Linked DNA regions of Homo sapiens: region 2 is linked to region 1. The links are contacts of gene promoters, found by promoter capture Hi-C in human tissues and cell types (Jung and others, 2019). All regions are on one chromosome and are shown on one strand. The core of a region is centred on a gene start or on the middle of the fragment in contact, and the rest is flanking DNA. Distances in the headings are between cores, read along the strand shown. Region 1 holds the start of ZBTB8B (zinc finger and BTB domain containing 8B). Region 2 has its middle 54 kb from the start of PUM1.

What was found. The method cuts DNA at HindIII sites, captures the fragments that hold promoters and counts their contacts. A contact is called where the count stands out against the background at its distance.
Region 2: a contact is called between a fragment that was not itself captured here and the fragment with the promoter of ZBTB8B in region 1, in 1 of the 25 tissues and cell types used here (spleen).

What each region holds. Positions count from the first base shown.
Region 1 is chr1:32,462,796-32,468,065 of GRCh38, forward strand. ZBTB8B (zinc finger and BTB domain containing 8B) reads left to right here and starts at 2,277. Exons shown (of 4, transcript NM_001145720.2): 1 at 2,277-2,310. The HindIII fragment of the contact is 24,686 bases long and covers 1-5,270 here.
Region 2 is chr1:31,117,563-31,122,832 of GRCh38, forward strand. No RefSeq gene overlaps it. Among named protein-coding and RNA genes, the nearest start is that of PUM1, 54 kb to the left of the region's middle. RefSeq lists an enhancer at 4,624-5,125. The HindIII fragment of the contact is 4,386 bases long and covers 388-4,773 here.

The DNA.
Region 1 (5,270 bases), core at 1,027-3,526:
GCTTAAGATCCTTCGAAGGTGTCCCTTCACATTCATAAGAAAAAATCCAAACTCCTTAAGGTGGCCTACAAATTCCTACATAATCTGGCCTTTGCTTCTCTATCCATTCATATTTCCTGTCGCTTGGACTGGCTACATAATTTGTGGGGCCCAATGCAAAATGAAAATGCAGAGCTCCTTGTTCAAAAACTACTAAGAATTTTAAGAGGGCAATGGCAGAGCATTAAACCAGGCATCAGCCCTTTCCTTTTTTTTAATTTTTAAAATATTTATTTAGATTTTCTTTTTGTTAGTAATTAAATCTTTCTTCTTCTTCTTCTTCTCCTCCTCCTCCTTCTCCTTCCTCTCCTTCCTCTTCCTCTTCTTCTTCTTCCCTCTTCCCTCTCTCCTCCTCCTCGTCCTCCTCCTCCTTGAAACAGTGCAGTGGCACAATCTCAGCTCACTGCAACCTCCACTTTCCATGTTCAAGTGATTCTCATGCCTCAGCCTCCCGAGTAGCTGGGATTACAGGTATGTGTCACCATGCCCAGCTAATTTTTGTATTTTTAGTAGACACTGGGTTTTGCCATGTTGGCCAGGCTGGTCTCAAGTGATCCGCCCGCCTCAGCCTCCCAAAGTGCTGGGATTACAGGTGTAAGCCACCGCACCTGGCTCTTTTTTTGTTTTGTTTTGTTAAGTATAAAACCTCACCTGGAAGCACCAGCCCTTTCTGAGTGTGCGGGCCTGTGCCACTGCGTGGGTTGCACGTCCATTAAGCTGGTCTACCTGCCATCCACTTCCTCAACCCAATGGCATTCTCCTGTTTCTTAGATATGTACCAACCGGTTTTCTGTTTTATCTTAGCATGGCTCACTACTCCTCATTAGGGTCTCTCAGCGAAGGGGGTAGCCTTTTTTTTTTTTTTTTTTTTTTTTGAGACAGAGTCTTGCTCTGCTGCCCAGGCTGGAGTGCAGTGGCCAGATCTCCACTCACTGCAATCTCTTTGGTTCAAGCATTCTCCTGCCTCAGCCTCCCAAGTAGCTGGGATTACTGGCCCACGCCCGGCTAATTTTTGTATTTTTAGTAGAGATGGGGTTTCACCATGTTGGCCAGGCTGGTCTCGGACTCCTGACCTCAGGTGATCCACCCGCCACCACTCCAGCCTGGGCAACAGAGTCTGAGACTCCGTCTCAAAAAAAAAAAAAAAAAAAAAAAAAAAGTCATACTGGCATAGAGTGAACCCCTAATCCAATATGACTGGTATCCTTATAAAAATACTTTTTTTTTGGAGACGGAGTCTCTCTCTGTCGCCCCAGGCTGGAGTGCAGTGGCGCGATCTCGACTCACTGCAACCAAAAGGAGACATTTTGACATGGAGACATATACAGGGAATATGCCCTGTGAACATGAAGATGGCCATATGCAAGCCCAGGAGAGAAGCCTGGAAGAGACCGTTTCCTCACAGCGCTCAGAAGGAAAGAACCCTGCCAACATCTTGCTTTCAGATGCCCCCAGGATTGTCAGACAATAAGATCTGTTATTGACGCCACCGGGTTGGTGATACTTAGGTACAGCAGCCCTAGCAAACGAATACACCCCCATGAGAACTAAGCTCCCTGAGAGCGGTAAGCTGCCTTGTCTTGCTCACAGCTGACAAGAACACGCCTGTACGGTCACTTAGCACCTAGTACTGCCATTTAACCGTTTCACTAGTATGTATGAACCGGAGAGCCTGTCAAGGGAAGAGCTGAATCTTTTATCTTTTGTAACGACTACCCAGTGAAAGAAACCGCGGGTATGCAATAAAAACCTGTTGAATCGATTAAACCATTTCCCTTATTTCCAGATTTTTGCGGAAAGCGCCAGTAGGTGAAATATGTGCGGACTGATGAGTCAAAGCTCTTATTCCCTGGACTGCATTAATACCCACGACGTGCTTTTCGCTCTCCAGACAAAGAGACCGGTACTTGGCAGGTCCCTCAAGTGGGACTCAAAAGACCGAACCGAGCTGCAGCCTTTCGCTAGCACTGGTCCTCGCCCCTTTTGGCATCTTGGTACTTGTAGTTTTGTCCACTCTATCTTTACCCGAAAAGCCAGCGCTGAGACCACAACTCCCATCACCCTGCGAGCACCAGCGCCTTCAGAGCGCATCCTCCGAGGGGCACCAGCGCCATTGACCACCCTGCTGGCCGAAGGGCCCGCCTTCCCGAGGCCAGGCGCTCCCGCGATTGGCCAGCCGCCCCGCCTCTCATCGGAGGGCGCCAGGTGAATGAAAGGGGGGCGTGTCGGTGCGCGGTGCTCCGTGGCTGCGCTGCTGGAACCCGCTGGAAGGTGAGCGCGAAGAAGCGGGTTGGCGCTGCCGCTTTCGTTGGTTTGGGGAGGATTCCTAGCACCCGGGAGGCTGGCTGGAGATTGGGGTTAGCGGGCAGGGTTGCCCCCACTCAGTCATCCTCCTTCGGACCGCTTGGCCCTGGCAACTCCTGGGACCTCCGCCCCGCGAGCCCTTCTAGCGTGGGGAGGGGCAGGCGCGGCCGTGGGGCCCCAGCTTCCCTGTCATTGGGTGTCCTCCGCGTCGTCCAGCCGGGGGTCGCGGCGCCGACTACTTCCACGGTGAATGGTGCCCAGGCGTGGGGGGCTCGGCCACACTGGAGAAGTGCCAGCGGCAGCGATGGCCACTTTGTCCGCGGGAGGCCATGGGAGGGGCTAGGCCTTGGGGTCCCACCCTCGGGGGCCGTGCCCTGTAGCTGGTTCTGGTGGCCTCTCTGCAGGTCGTCTGATGCTGGACGGGGGAGGGTCTGTCTTGCGAGCAGTTTAGATGCAGTTGACCCTGAAATTCTTCGTATGGAAATGGAAACTTCTCCAGTGTCCTTCTCCTCCGATCCATGCCTAAAAGAAAGGAGTGACTTCCCCAACCTGTCGCATCGTGTCCTGGAGGGTTTGAGGAGGCCGGTTAGCATAGTGGTTAAGGATGTCAACCCGGGAGTCAGTCGGATCTCTGTTCTATTACTAACTTGGTGATGTTATCTGCATCTTTGAATCTCAGTTCCTCCTCTGAAAAAGAGGATGTAGTTAGAGTATCTGTCGTACTGGATTATTGTGAGGTGAAAACTAATGTGCTTGTAAAAGCCAGGCATGGTGGCGCGCACCTGTAGTCCCTGCTACTCGGGAAGCTAAGGTTGGGAGGATCTCTTGAGCCCAGGAGTTCCAGGCTGCATTGAGGTAGGATCGTGCACTCCAACCTGGGCAACCGAGCAAGACCGTGCCTTTTAAAAATTTTAATTTAAAAAGTAAAATGAATATGCTTGTACTTTGTACAGTGTTTTATAAGGAATAGTGCTTAATATTTACTAAAATTGAGGAGCAGGTTTTTGTTATTCTCAGGTTGGTGGGACTGGAGGAGTCTTGTCAGAAAGGGTCGGAGGTGGAATTCAAGGCTGCTTTTGGCCTCTGAACAGAGACAGTTGTGTGATCTGGCTAGGACTCCCTCAAGGGTATATGAGAGTTTGTATTGCAGGTAGTTGTGTTGGCATCTGCTGTCTCCTGGAGGACAGGCACTATACTTGGTTCATTTTTCTATTCCTGGCATCTTCCTTGTGTCAGGCATTGTATGTAGCCGGTAACCGTTGAATTGAGTTGGAACCGTGGGATGGTTGGGAGGTTCCCTGCCAGAGTGCGGATAAATGTGCTTCTGAGAGCAGTCTGCCCTAAGAGCTGCTCTTCTGGGATAAGTGGTGATCCTCAGCACTTCCCGGGGCAGCAGAGCACTTCAGGCAAATGGGGGTGATATAAATAAATATTTACACAATATATACCAAGTACAGGATTGGGGAAAATTTTGAAGAAAATACTATACGGATAGACTTTTGCAACGTCAGGAAGTAGAATAAAAATAATTGCAATAGAATAAAAAATAATTTCAGTAAGAAAGCCAAAAGAAATTGGTTTTAGGTGCTATTTCTGGAAAGGAGGCTTTTCCAGTGAAAGACGGAAGTGCCCTGGGAAGAGCCCCTATAGATCAGACCATACTACAAGTTAAGAAGTGTTGTGCGTACTTACATATTTATCTACCTGGCTTACCAACTCCTTACCCCTCTGCCCTGCCTCCTTTTTTTCTTAGTTAACAAAGAAAAAAGCCAAGGCAGAAGGATCACTTGAGTCCAGGAGTTCAAGACCATTGAGACCAGCCAGGGCAACATAGTGAGACCCCATCTCTACAAAAAAATGTTTTCAGAATTAGCTGAGTGTGGTGCTGCATGCCTGTAGTCACAGCTACTTGGGAGGCTGAGGTAGGAGGATTGCTTGAGCCTGGGAGGTCGAGGCGGCAGTGAACTGTGATCATGGACTGCACTCCAGCCTGGGTAACAAAGTAAGACCCCGTCTCAAAAGAAAAGAAAAGCAATACATGCACATAGTAAAACATTCTATCAGAAAGGTTTAAAATGAAAGGCGAAAGTCCCTCCACACACTTGTTTTTTTTTTTTTTTTTGAGATGGAGTCTCGCACTATCGCCCAGGCTGGAGTGCAGTGGCACAATCTCTGCTCACTGCAGCCTCCGCCTCCACCGCCTCCTGGGTTCAAGTGATTCTCCTGCCTCAGCCTCCCGAGTAGCTGGGATTACAGGTGCCCGCCACCATGCCCAGCTAATTTTTTTGTATTTTTAGTAGAGACGGGGTTTCACTACGTTGGCCAGGCTGGTCTCGAACTCCTGACCCCAGGTGATCTACCCACCTTGGCCTCCCAAAGTGCTGGGATTACAAGTGTGAGCCACCACACCCGGCCCCAAGTGGATTTTAAACTTGGTTTATAGTTTATCTACTAAGCAGTTAAGAAATGAATATTCCTTTTTTGCTTAACAAATCTATTTTGTCCAAAGCACTCTGCCAGATACTGTAAGGGATATAAAATTGAATAAGACATGGCTCATGCTTTCAAAGGGCTTGTAGTTCATTGACAGAGAAGGGCCAGGACATAAATAATAAACAGGAGTTAACCAAGGGTAGTGGAATCAGTCAGTTAGGAGTCTCCCAGTTGCATGAAATAGAAAACCCAACTCAGAGGCCAGGTGTGGTGTCTCACACCTGTAACCCCAGCACTTTAGGAGGCTGAGGGGGGCAGATCACTTGAGGCCAGGAGTTCGAGACCAGCCTGGGCAACATGGCAAAACCCTGTCTCTACCAAAAGTACAAAAAAAATTAGCCTGGCGTGGGGGTGGGTACCTGTAGTCCCAGCTACTCGGGAGGCTGAGGTAGGATGATTACTTTAGCCAGGGAGGCGGAGGTCAGAGTGGGCCG
Region 2 (5,270 bases), core at 1,331-3,830, 1.3 Mb before region 1:
GCAGGAGAATCGCTTGAACCCAGGAGGCAGAGGTTGCAGTGAGCCGAGATCGTGCCACTGCACTCCAGCCTGGGTGACAGAGTGAGACTCTGTCTCAAAAAATATATATATATATTAAATATAATATAATATATATATTATATAATATATATATTATATATTATATATTATATATATTTATATATAATATATATAAATATGTATGTATGTATGTAGGTGAGCAAAAGTGAAAATAGTTAAGAGCCAAATTAAATAATCCAGGAGAGAGATGAGGTGGCTTGCACTAGGGTGGTGACTGTGGAGGTATAAGACATATTATAGATGCATACATATATTATACATATATACATAAACATACATCTATTGTATTTATATATTATATACATGTATTTTATATTATATATAACATGTATAACATACATTATATATGTATATACATATATAATGTATATTTTTATATGTATATACATATATAATGTATATTTTTATATGTATATAAAATATATGTATGCTTATGTATGTATATGTATGCATGTATATGTATGTTATAAAAAATGTATGTGTGCATAATATGTAAGTATAATACATAATATATATGTGTAATATGTATGTATCTATCTATACACACACACACACACACACACACACACACACACACACATACATGTATATCTGGTACCTCCACAGTCAACACCCTAGGGCAAGCCGCCCTCATCTCTCTCCCAATTATTTAATTTGGCTCTTAACCATTTTCACCATTGCCCACCTATAGTCTATTCTCCACTCAGCAGCCACAGTGACCTTCGAAAACTGTCCCTTCTGTGCTTAACCCCTAATCCACAAAGCACATCATCACATACTCACCTCCAGCCCTTCACTTCTGCCAAGAATATTCTTCCAGTGATTCACATGATTCAAATCACTGCTCAAATGTCACCTGATCAGAGCAAATGTATCTAAGATTGTCTTTCTGATCACTTCCTACCCCTAAGCCTGCTTTACTATCTTTTATGGCAGTTATCATCCCTTGATATATTTTATATTTATTTATTCATGATGATCTCTCCCCATGTATATTTATAACCTGAATGTGTCTAAGATATACATTGTCAAGGGAAAATAACAGGCTACATACAGCACATCTTCAGTAAGTCCTCTTCTACATCCATATTTGTATATAACTGAAAGGCAGCCTGAATGGATATGGGCAAGGAGTTCATGGTGGTATATGTGCTTGTGAATTTGGAGTGGTCATCTCTCATAATGCCTGCTTTGCCCGCCTTAATTTTGTTTACCTATATTTTCTATTTTTTTTCAAATTAATTTCGAATCTGAAAGGAAAGATAAGGGATAAATACATTCAGAAGGAGGGATAAGATCTACTAGGAATACCAGAGAGAATAGAAAGAGAAAAGGCATTGTAGGGCTTCACAGATAGTCGAACCACACAGACCTTCAAAGGGAAGGGGTTAGCATCTCCAGCTGATTATTCCTAGAATGCAAATTTTGGGTGGGTTCAGTGGCTCATGCCTGTAATCCCAGCACTTTGGGAGACTGAGGCGGACAGATTGCTTAAATCCAGTAGTTTAAGGCCAGCTTGGGCTGGGCAAGGTGGCTCACACCTGTAATCCGAGCACTTTGGGAGGCCAGGGCGGGCAGATCACCTGAGTTCAGGAGTTCCAGACCAGACTGGCCAACACGGCGAAACCCCTGTCTCTACTAAAAATACAAAAATTAACCGGGCATGGTGGCGGGCACCTGTAATCCCAGCTAATCGGGAGGCCGAGGCAGTAGAATCACTTGAACCCGGGAGGCGGAGGTTGCAGTGAGCCTAGATTGCACCACTGCACTCCAGCCTGGGCGATAGACAGAGCGAGACTCCATCTCAAAAAAAAAAAAAAAAAAAAAAAAGACCAGCTTAGCCAGCATGGTGAGATCCTGTCTCTACAAAAAATATAAAAATTAGCCAGAGGGCCAGGCGCAGTGCCTCACACCTGTAATCCCAGCATTTTGGGAGACTGAGTTGGGCAGATCACCTGAAGTCAAGAGTTCGAGACCAGCCTGGCCAACATGGTGAAACCCCATCTCTACTAAAAATACAAAAACATTTAGCTGGGTGTGGTGGTGCATGCAAATAGTCTCCACTACTTGGGAGACTGAGGCAGGAGAATTACTTGAACCTGGGAAGCGGAGGTTGAAGTGAGCCAAGATCACGCCACTGCACTCTAGCTTGGGTGACAGAGCATGACTCAGTCTCAAAAAAAAAAAAAATTAGCTGGGTATGGTGGCACATGCCTGTAGTTTCAGCTACTGGGGAGGCTGACATGGGAGGATCACTTGAGCCCCGGAAGTGGAGTTTGCAGTGATCAGAGATCACACCACTGTACTCCAGCCTGGGCAACAGAGTGAGATCCTGTCTGATAAAAAAAAAAGAAGGCAAATTTTTTTCCTTGCTCCTGTCTTCATAGACACCAGTTTAGAGAGGCAGCTTCTGTCAGTGTGCAAAGGATACTTTCACACACACACACACACACACACACACACACACACACACACACACACAGAGAGAGAGAGAGAGATTGGGAGCAAAGCAGCCCTGGACAGCTCAGCCTCCAAGTGACTTTCCGTGTCCTTCCAGGCTGAAAAACAACCAGTAACTTTTAAATAGCAGCTTCTCTTGCCAAACCAAAATTAAGATCTGTCTCTCCAGGCAGCTTTCTTCATTATTAATGGCTAAGAGACTATTAAAACCTGCCTGGTCCTGCCCTTCTCTAACTCCACCCTATAGCCTGGGAGAAGCAGAAAGCTGGGGCCAGACACGCTATTAGGACCCTCACTCCATGTGCCTTGGCTGTTCTTCTTTTCATTGCAGAAAACCAACCTGAAACTCCAGAGTAGGAGCACCATGCTCACAGTTGCATGCCCGGTGGGCTCCCAAACTCAGATCAGACCCTAGGCTCCTGTGCCATTTCACTCAACCATGTAGGAAGGCTTATCAGATTGTGGATGATTCCACTCAGAAAACCATAGTCAGCATGGTGCGTATCCCCAGTGGCGTGCTGGTACGTGTTTAACAACCAGCTCTCTGGGGTACAAAGGCAGCCCTGGTTTGTAGCATGTGTCAATTTCCTTGGTGTGAAGTCTTTCACTGTGGCCGATTTCAAGCTACCAACTTGACATCAACCTGAAAATTAAGCAGTCAGCGCTCAGGAGCTGAGGTGCGCAGACTCCAGCACATTACGGTCAACTCAAGGCCCTTCCCAAGGACGTACAGACCCAGGGTTCTGACACCTTCTAGATCAAGTCTTGCCTGTGTCCCACCTGCACAGGACCCTGGTATTTCAAAGACTGTCACTCATAAGGGTTTTTATTGAGGCAGTGTGGACAGGGTGGGGGCAGGAACTGGGGAATTGCACAGGCTTGGTTCCTAATAATAGCCCCACCATATAAGGCCCATGCTGCCTAGCTAAGCAGCTCCACCTTTCTGGGTCTCAGCTGCCTCATCTGTAAAACTGGGATAATGATACCTGAGAAAGTTGTTGTGAGAAATAAATGAGATAATATTCACAAAGTACTTGACAGTCAGTCAATATGGCTTCCTTCTGTGTATTACCATGAACAATTGCTTACAATATAAAACAAAGATTAAAAATCATAATGCGGGCTGGGCACAGTGGCTCATGCCTGTAATCCCAGCAATTTGGGAGGCCGAGGCGGGCAGATCACTTGAGGTCAGGAGTTTGACACTAGCCTGGCCAAGGTGGTGAAACCCTGTCACTACTAAAAATACAAAAAAAAAAAAAATTAGCTAGGCATGGGGGCAGGCACCTGTAATCCCAGATACTCGGGGAGGCTGAGACAGGAGAATTGCTTGAACCTGGGAGGCGGAGGTTGCAGTGAGCTGAGATCATGCCACTGCACTCCAGCCTGGGCAACTGAGCAGAACTCTGTCTCAAAAAAAAAAAAAAAAATCATAATGTGGCCAGGTACAATAGCTCATGCCTGTAATCTCAGCACTTTGGGAGGCTAAGGTGGCTGGATTGTTGGAGGTCAGGAGTTCGAGACCAGCCTGGGCAACAAGGTGAAAGCTTGTCTCTACTAAAATACAAAAACTGGCCAGGCGTGATGGTGCATGCCTGTACTCCCAGCTACTCGGGAGGCTGAGGCACAAGAATTAATTGCTTGAACCTGGGAGATGGAGGTTCCAGTGAACTGAGATCATGCCAGTGCACTCCAGCCTGCTGGACAGAGTGAGACTCCGTCTCAAAAGAAATAAAAATAAAAATAAACTAACCAAAAAAAAACAGAAAAAATTCAGGACACCAAACTCTTCCTGTGGCTTATTGTACTGGGATGGGGGTGTGGGAGATGAACAGAGAAGGGCAGGGAGTGACTTCCCAGGGCAGTGGAGGTGTTTTTATCTTGAGAACGGTGTGGGTTACAGAAGTGTATGCTTCTGTCAAGACTCAACCAACTCCACTTAAAATCTAAGGATTTCATTCTAAGAAAATTATACCCCTGTTAAAAGATGTTAAAAAGTGGAGGAGCATGATTATAGATGACAAGTAAGTGTGCAAGTGAGTTAAAAGACTTACCAACTCTGCCCATCCCCCCTCCAAAAAAGGCATGCAAATTAGCAAGTGAAGATGAGAAAGAGCTGGGTGAGCAGGCCAGGCAGGCCAAAACTCTCCTCCCGGTCTGCCTGGAGGCAGCCTGATTTTCTCTCCAGCACAGATGTCTCTAAGCAGCTGCTGATCACAGTGAGCCTGGGGGCCCTAGGCTCTGGCAAGTACACTCTGTTGTCCAGCATCATCGCACTCCAGCTAAAATGTGTCTCCAGCAGGCAACTGCTCCAAGACCACGTGCTGAAGGAACTAGACGTCGGTGTTCAGTGGAGATGTTCATTGTTGGGTGGGTATGGTGGCTCATGCCTGTAATCCCAGCAACTTTGGGAGGCTGAGGTGGGAGGACCTCTTGAGCCCAGGAATTGGAGGCCAACTTGGGCAACATAGCGAGACCCCATCTCTATGAAAAATTTAAAATTAGCCAGGCATGGTGTTGTGTGCTTGTAGTCCCAGGAGGAAACAGGAGGATCACTTGAGCCCAGGAGGTCAAGGCTGCAGTGAGCTGTGATTGCACCACTGCACTCCAGCCTGGTTAACAGAGACCCTGTCTCAAAACAAAAGAGCAAAAAAACAAAAAAAAAGCCTTCCATTGTCCATGGGATGCTCCACAATGTGATGCAGCTGAAAAGCCGCACCTACTAGAGC